3 separate regions of the Homo sapiens genome follow, and regions 1 and 2 are each linked to region 3. Evidence: promoter capture Hi-C in 16 types of primary human blood cells and fetal thymus (Javierre and others, 2016). All regions are on one chromosome and are shown on one strand. Each heading gives the region's core, a stretch centred on a gene start or on the middle of the fragment in contact. The rest is flanking DNA. Distances are from core to core; before and after follow the strand shown. Region 1 holds the start of ZBTB33 (zinc finger and BTB domain containing 33). Region 2 overlaps MCTS1 (MCTS1 re-initiation and release factor). Region 3 holds the start of ENOX2 (ecto-NOX disulfide-thiol exchanger 2).

Evidence for each region. The method cuts DNA at HindIII sites, captures the fragments that hold promoters and counts their contacts. A CHiCAGO score of 5 or more calls a contact.
Region 1: a contact is called between the fragment with the promoter of ZBTB33 here and the fragment with the promoter of ENOX2 in region 3, in 4 of 17 cell types (activated CD4 T cells, non-activated CD4 T cells, naive CD4 T cells and 1 more). The highest score is 8.2, in activated CD4 T cells.
Region 2: a fragment that was not itself captured here is called in contact with the fragment with the promoter of ENOX2 in region 3 in 1 of 17 cell types (naive CD8 T cells); the score reaches 5.6 in naive CD8 T cells.

Annotation. Positions count from the first base shown.
Region 1 is chrX:120,249,551-120,252,250 of GRCh38, forward strand. It overlaps ZBTB33 (zinc finger and BTB domain containing 33), which reads left to right and starts at 1,262. Exons shown (of 3, transcript NM_001184742.2): 1 at 1,262-1,427. It also overlaps a transcript of TMEM255A not described here. RefSeq lists an enhancer at 969-1,807. The HindIII fragment of the contact is 5,064 bases long and covers 1-1,957 here.
Region 2 is chrX:120,605,094-120,607,793 of GRCh38, forward strand. It overlaps MCTS1 (MCTS1 re-initiation and release factor), which reads left to right. Exons shown (of 6, transcript NM_014060.3): 2 at 314-466; 3 at 986-1,083. Among named protein-coding and RNA genes, the nearest start is that of MCTS1, 2.3 kb to the left of the region's middle. The HindIII fragment of the contact is 3,910 bases long and covers 1-2,700 here.
Region 3 is chrX:130,901,894-130,904,593 of GRCh38, forward strand. It overlaps ENOX2 (ecto-NOX disulfide-thiol exchanger 2), which reads right to left and starts at 1,316. Exons shown (of 15, transcript NM_006375.4): 1 at 1,156-1,316. RefSeq lists enhancers at 682-1,201, 1,062-1,331, 1,202-1,721, 1,342-1,531. The HindIII fragment of the contact is 1,854 bases long and covers 1-1,805 here.

The DNA.
Region 1 (2,700 bases), core at 12-2,511, about 11 Mb before region 3:
TTTAGGAAAGAAGCACAGGAATTCCACTGCAAGGTATTAATAGGTACAAATTTAAGATTTTGGAAATGAATGCAGTATTATCCTATATATATCTTTTTAAAAAGATAATGAAGGTAGTGAATGGCCTTAATTATGGCAGAAAAAAAGTTACTATTTGGTTCCTTAGTTGAATACGATCAATAACCAGCCTAAAAGGGAAACATTTTGCTCTCCAAACACCCATCCTGTTGCTTCATTTATTATGGTACTCAGTTGGAAGGGTATTACCAGAGGATTTTAAAAAATTATGTAACTCACAATGTATTTTTTCGGTCATTAAACAATCACTGAACACATACTATGTGTCAGACACTAAAGCCCTCTGAAGATGAAATGTTATGGAAATAGTAATAATAAAAAATTAAAATAGTAACAATAAAAAATTAAAAATGCAAGTGTTAATATTATTAATCTTTCAAGATACAGGTCAAATGACAGCATTCAATTTGCTATTCTCTTCTCTCTGCTTCTACACCTTGTACAAATATTTTTGTCCATGTTTGTGTACCTACCTACTGAGCTCCCTAAAGAGGTAGAGACCTTTGGGTTATTCATTTTTGTATTCCCGAGAGCCTAACATAGGGTTTTTGCTACAGATCAAGCAGGGGGTCAGTAAATGCTAGTTGGAATGAGGGAATTAACATAGTACTGCACCATTTAGTATTCAATTAAGAAGATAGTTGTCCAAACACTAAATTTCTTTCTTAAAAGTAGTTACTGTAATGTAGTTGCTCTCTTGTTATCCCAGAACTTGAATTACCATAAGAAGTTGTGAATTTCTATTTGATTGTATGTATTTTGATTATATTTCAAGATGGTTTATCATCTAGCAAACAGTCTAATAGAGCAGATTCAAACTTGCAAAATAAATGAAACCTGTATAGTCTCTAAAAGTTTGTATGCCCTAGAAGTTCACATTGAATTTCGATGAAAACGACTCGCTTCCCTTCCATCCAATTGCTTGCGACTGTCTTACCCGATCTTTCCCTTTCCTTTTTTCCCACCCGTTAGCCCTCCGGAAAGAGCCGAACACACAAGAGCTTCCCAGTCTTCCTCCGCCCCCTTGCGGAAAGAACCGAAGGCAGAGCACGGCGCCGAAGTGGAGCCGCCTCAAGCTCGGGCCCTTCCGGACCACCCCGGCCTGCGCTCGGAAGAGGAGGGCGCCTTTGGCTTCAGCGCTTCGCCCCCGCGCTGTGCCCTCTGTCGGCGGCGTGGGGCAGCTGTAGCAGCGTTGGCGGCAGGAGGCGGCGGCCGCGTCGACGTCGACCCAGACTGGAGCGACGTTTAAAGAAGGGGCAGAATCGCTGGGGAGTGCGGCTTCTTCTTGTTGGGGGACTCCCAGCCTTCCGCGCGTCCGGAGGAGGAGAAGCGGCGGCGCCGGGAAGCAGGTGAGGACCCGGCCCCAATCAGGGAGGGGGCGAAGGAGCGCGCTTGCCTTCTCCGTCCCTGGGCCGCGCCTGCGTTTGCATTCGCCTCACTTGAACCAGGAAGCGGCAGAGTCGGAGGCTCAGCTCCTCCGGCTCTTTCTTTGTGTGGGCCGGGGAGCGAAGGAGGGGACGAGCCGCGAGGGCCGCGGCGCGGTCCCCTTCGCCGTTAGGGGCCGAGGGGCTGCCGGTGCCCTGGGTAGGCCCCGGGGCTTGGGGAATCCATCACAGAGACCCACTTGGCTTTTCCCTCGCCCCTCTCGCTGCTTTTTTGTGCCTCTTTTACTCCCCTAGCCCCTACTTTGATTTAGAGCTTTTCTGCCAGGCCCATCCTCCCCTTCCGTCCCCTTCCCGGGGCACAACAATGCCGCCTGCTTCGCTTCATCCCCCCCCCAACACCCCACCCTGCCGTTCGCCACCTTCTACTTTCCCTGGTACCCCATATTCCTCCCGCCCTCACTCTGCTGTTTGTACCTCCGTCTGTATTTGCAAGAAGCTTGCTTTGCACGTGAATTGGGGTTAAAAACCTCGGTTGCAGCTGGCAGGGTCCATATGGGGAAGAGGGAGGTGGAGGAAGGGAGATGAGGTTCAGCTGCCGCAGGGAGCCGCGTGTCGGTTTGTTTCACTCCCTCGCGGATGGCTTTTATCTCTTTCCACCGTCACCAGCTCCTCCGAACTGGCCCTCGGTCAAGGGTTTCACAGTGATGTGGAATGGCTTTTCCACAGTCGAATCGCATATCTTCGGAGTGGGTTCAGACCGACTTGTGCTGTCTCTGGGGCCACCCTGAGTGGGAGGAGGGGGACACATAAACGAAACGAAACCGAGTCCCAGTGTCACCTGGACACGTACATTTGACGCATTCCCATATTGGAAGAACCCGGGAGCAAATGACAAAAATTGCGTGCCGTTTTCAGAAAACCTGTCTTTCCACTTAATATCGACTTCTGTCGAAATGCCCGTATTTCGGAAGCCCTGGTTTTTGGCAAACTGTCCAAAGGTCACCCTTTCTGATGATGAATGCCTTTATGGTAACCTGGAATTCCTTGGTACTGTTAACATGCAACACCTTCTAATAATGTTTTAAATCTTGATTTTTAGACTTTTTGCCTGCTGTTTGTTCTTAAGGTATCATTTTGAAAAATTTAGAAGGTATTTGAGACAGAACTGCCCTCCACCTGTATATAACTTAAGCATTGTGACATCGACACCCTTTTGGTAACTTCAAAGGGAGAGAAT
Region 2 (2,700 bases), core at 29-2,528, about 10 Mb before region 3:
AAGATTTTCCAGGAAAGGCATTTGTGTAGCTAATTACAGATTATGGTGCAAAGTATGTCTCATATTCCTCCCCCTAACCCCAGCTAATTGCTGTATACTTGACAGTTTATTTCAATATTGTATTAAGACATTGGTTTTGTGCTGGACAGAGTAAAAGGGAGATGGTATTTTTTTTTAAAAGAACAATTTATTTCATAATTAAGTATCTAAATACTTGGTTGGGAATAAATGACTAATTAGAACAGTACCTTTAGGTATTCTGATACCTCTACTTAGAAATGCCTTTTCTTTTCTTGCAAAAATTACTTGGCAGATTTGATGAAAAAGAAAATGTGTCCAACTGCATCCAGTTGAAAACTTCAGTTATTAAGGGTATTAAGAATCAATTGATAGAGCAATTTCCAGGTATTGAACCATGGCTTAATCAAATCATGCCTAAGAAAGATCCTGTCAAAATAGTCCGATGGTAAGTCTTTGTTTTTGTCTGTGTAAAGCTCGGTATAGCTGAATATTTAATGATTAGATTGCACTCATACTAAATGGAATTATTTTCAGATTAACTATTGATAGATTAATAATGGGGTAGACACAGAATAACTCTAAAACTCCAATATTTGTATTTTCAAAGATTTTCTATGTCCCTGAAAAAATGTGGCTTTGTGTATTGATTGTTCTAGTAAAGAGTTAAATGTTTTAGTTCAGAGTTGGATTTAATTTATTTCAGTTTGTTGTTTAGAGAATTGTTTTATTGAATTACCTAACAATGGAATTAATAAAATGTGAAATAAAATTGGTTGTAGCAGGTAATATTTTTCTTTTTTTCTCTACTGGACTTGCATGATAGGAAAAACAATGTAAACAATATTTTTTGGCCAGGATTTTTACTGACTTTTTAAGAAAGTTTATCACTGTATATGCGTGTTTTATATTGTGAATTTTTGAAAGAAAATATCTAACTTGGTACTTTGTGACATTTGTCTTACAGCCATGAACATATAGAAATCCTTACAGTAAATGGAGAATTACTCTTTTTTAGACAAAGAGAAGGGCCTTTTTATCCAACCCTAAGATTACTTCACAAATGTAAGGTTTTTTTATTTTTATTTTTTGAAATTTTACTCCTATTGCAATATTCAAATGTAAAGTCTTGTAAGAAATATGCATTTAATCAGATAAGACACTGCTGGGGGAGAAAAACAGAAATATGCATTTGGGAATACTGAAAGACACAAAAAGAGTTTAGAGTGACTTCTGATAATTGACTCATTATTTATTAGTACTAGGTAATAATGGATGTAAAACTAAAATGAATGCCCATCTTGTGGTAAATCTGAAAAATGCAGATTCTCTCATGCATTCCAGAAAGCCCAAGAAAGATCATTTATTAATTCATTCAACAAATATTTATTGCCGGGCACGGAGGCTCACGCCTGTAATCCCAGCACTTTGGGAGGCCAAGGCGGGTGGATCACCTGAGATCAGGAGTTCGAGACCAGCCTGGCCAACATGGTGAAACCCCGTCTCTACTAAACATACAAAAGTTAGCCGGGCGTGGTCACAGGTGCCTGTAATCCCAGCTACTCGGGAGGCTGAGGCAGGAGAATCACTTCAACCCGCGAGGCGGAGGTTGCAGTGAGCAGAGATCACGCCATTGCACTCTAGCCTGGGGAACAAGAGCGAGACTTAGTCTCAAAAAAAAAAAAAAAAAAAAAAAGACAAATATTTATTGAACTTACTATGTGCTAGGCATTCAGCTAGGTGCTGAGAATACAATGGGAAGCAAAGACATTGTCTCTGTCCTTAAGAAACTAATAGTCTAGTTTGGAGAATAAACAACAATTAGATAATTACGCAAATATGTATTTACAAACTGTGATAAGCATTGTGAGCATTTTCATCTTTTATATTTGTATCTATTTGCCTAATAGAGAAAAGTCTATATATGGGAAAGCATTGACTAAGTGTCCTTCCGTCCAGGTATTTCCTGTGATGTGTGTAAATGCATTTTTTTTTAAAATTGGGCTCTCTGTTACATAGTTTTTAAAAATTGATACGTCATAGCTGTACATTGTCTGCTGTTGTGGTGCCTGTATCCCCCACCACCTATATATATTTATAATAGTTGTACATATTTTAGGGGTACATGTGATATTTGATACCTTTATACAGCGTGTAATGATCAAATCAGGGTAATTAGGGTATCTGTCACCTCAAACGTTTATCTTTGTGTTGAGAAGATTACAATTCTTCTAGCTATTTTGAAATATAGAGTAAATCATTGTTAAATATAATTTCCTTATTGTACTCTCGAATACTAGAACTTATCGACCTGTATTTTTATACCCCTTAACCAACTTCTCCTCATCCCCTTGTAGTTTTTTTTTAAATTAACAGGCTTTTATTTTTTAGAGCAGTTTTAGGTTTCCAGAAAAAGTAAGCAGAAAGAATAGAGTTCCCTCTCCCCAGTTCAGATTCCCCTATGAATAACATCTTGTTTTGGAATGATACATTTGTAACAATTGAACCAGCATTGATACATTATTATTAACGCAAGTCCTTAGTTTACATTAGGGTTTACTCTTTGTATTCTACAGTTTTATGGTTTTTCCCAAATACATGTCAAGTATCTACTGTTAAAGTATCATACAGAATGGTTTTACTGGCCTAACATCCTTTGTGCTCCACCTATTCATCCTTCCT
Region 3 (2,700 bases), core at 66-2,565:
ATTCCAATCAGGCAAGCCCACCTGTCTCACAGTGCTCCCTCTTCTGTTTACCCTTCTCAAAGTCCAATCTCAGTAGCAGGAAGCATTTTCTCCCTCCTCTTTGACAACTTCAAATCCCCTGTACTCTGCTGGAGCCCAGATTAAAATTCACCTCCTTCACAAAGCCTGAAAGCCGGATGAGGGCTTCAGCACTTCCCGGGTTAGGCTTGAACTTCCATAGATGAACTCACCACCCCCATCAGTATGCTCTTCCACTGACCCCTCTTAGCGTTTTTTGCACACGTTTGTAATAATACAATGATTAATATGGTCTGTTTCACACGGTCTACTTTATTCTGTAGAATAAAGGTGTGCCCCCTAAATGTTTGTCAACATTAGTGCTATCAGTCTTTGCTGGAAACCCCTAAAGCGCTGGATTTTTATAACCAGTCTAACTTGCCTTTTACTCTCACCAGAACCCTGCACTGAACCTTAAACACACATTTCTCAAAAGCAAGATTCCTTCCCTCTTTTGCTTCCCATCCCTTCTAGAAATTGAGGGGAAACTCTCCCCACTTCAAAGACCTGGTGGGGGAAGTGGCAGGTGGCTGAGGGGCCAGTAAAGAGATGGCGATCAATTAAGGAGGCAAAAAGAGAAAGTTTGAAAAAAAAAAGTCACGCCCTGAGCGTGGCAAGGAATTCCCATGCCCCAAAGAAAATGGGGAGTGTAGCGCAGGGAGGGTTATGTGCCCAAACCTGAAATACAAATTGAGGGAAAAGAGGAAAGAGATCACCCAATTCCTGCGGTAAGAATTAGAGTCCAGTCACCGCCTAGGCAAAACCCTGGACGCAAACCCCAACTTCGGACCTCTGAGGAGGCACAGAGCCAGGGGGAGGGGGGCGGCGTCGTGGGAAAAAAAAAAAGGGGCGGGCGAGTTGGACCAAAAAAAAAAAAAAAAAAGAGCAAAGACAGCGCGCTCCCGGGCTCAAGAGAACTGGCGCCTAGAGCTCAAAAGCCCACCCCCGACTCCCAGTCCCGATACCCCCTCCCCTGCAGAGGTGGAGCTGGGTGGAGTTAGGCGCTGAGGACCGCGGCCCCGGAAGCACCCTCCTCCCTAGGCCCCCTCAGTCCCACAGTCCCCAGCCACGGCCACCGGGGCTTTCTGCCTCTCTGACCTCCAGCTCCCCGGCTACCGAAGCGCTAGTCCTTATACAGCCGCGGAAAATCGGGCCGGCGCGGCAGTTCCTGGGCTCGTAGTGCCCTCGCGGCGCCCCACGCCGCGCCACTCTCTTCCGAAATGCCCGCCTCGCGCTTCCAGGCCTAGACCCGGCACTCTGGCCCAAGGCTGGACTCTCACACACAGGGTGCCCACTGCGGCGTCTCCTATTGGCTACTGGTCACCGGGGAAGCCGGAGGCCCGAGCCCATGGCTTCATGGGAAATGTAGTTTGAGGTCGCTGGAGGCTGTTCTTCCTGGGGGTAACTCGTGTTGACATTGGCAGACAGACACAAGTGAGGACCGAGAATTATGGGAGATGGAGTTGCGGGACACTTATTTCTCTATACGCACAATTCTTCCCCTCCCCTTCCGATTGTCCCCAGCGTTCAGACGGGGAAGGGTATTCTGGGTATTGTAGTTTGGGTGCACTGTCTAGAGAATCTCTCTTGGGGTTATGGGTTTGTGCTTGTGGGGACAGACGAAGGCTCTAGATTTATTTTCATGTCGGTTAAGCTCTTAGCATTTTGCGGGAAGCACTTTCTATCGTGATTTGAAATTGTTATTGAGTTTTAAGTGTTTTTCAAAAGATGATGTTTATTCTTTGGTAAGCTTAGAATTTTAATTGAGAGTTATAGTCCTTTAAAATTGTTAAAGTGTGTTCCTTGTGAACCACCTGCATTAAAATCACTTGAAAGGTATGGAAGAATGTATATATTTTTTTCTAATTGGAAATTATAGTTCCCCCTGGAAACAGTGTCATAAATAGGCATAGAAATGTGATCTACACCAGCCCAGAAGAAGCCTATTTAATCCATAATGAAGCTATGTTGTTGCCATGAAAAACAGTGGCCACATAAACTGCTATAAATAACAATTTAGAACAGATAGACAATACAACTTAAGTACAAACGAGTAACTATATGTGTCTTTAAGAAACTTAACCTTTTGAGTAAAAATATGTTACAAGAGCTGGATAAAGACATAGGTGGGGAATGCCAAGCACTTCCAAGTGACTTAAAGGTTGAGGAAAATGGTTGTTTATTAGGGCTAATTTCACTCCCAACTTTTGACCTTTTTTTTTCTCTGTTAGAGATGAATCCTTGTAGCCTTGTTACAGTTGAATTACTACAACTTCTTGATGAGGACAACTTTTCGACTCACGAGTAAAATGAAGGGAAAGACAGGGGAATTGCATTTTGCTGAGGTAATTGCCCAATATTTTAAAAAGATAAGTGAAGGAGGAAGACGATTTAATAAATTCAACCATTTATTCAGCATAGTGCTTTGTGCAAAGCTCTGGGCTAGGCACTGTTGCCACAGAATTGGAAAAATAGTCCCTACCCTCAAGTAGCTCAAAATCCAGGTGAGGGGAGTTGTAGTAGAGGAGAATCTGGGGGGAGGAATAGATGAGTATACAATGTGCAAAATGCTGTAAAGAAGTCTACATAGGGTTCTATAGGAACATAGAGGAGGAAGAACTTGTTCTACTTCTGGAGAACTGG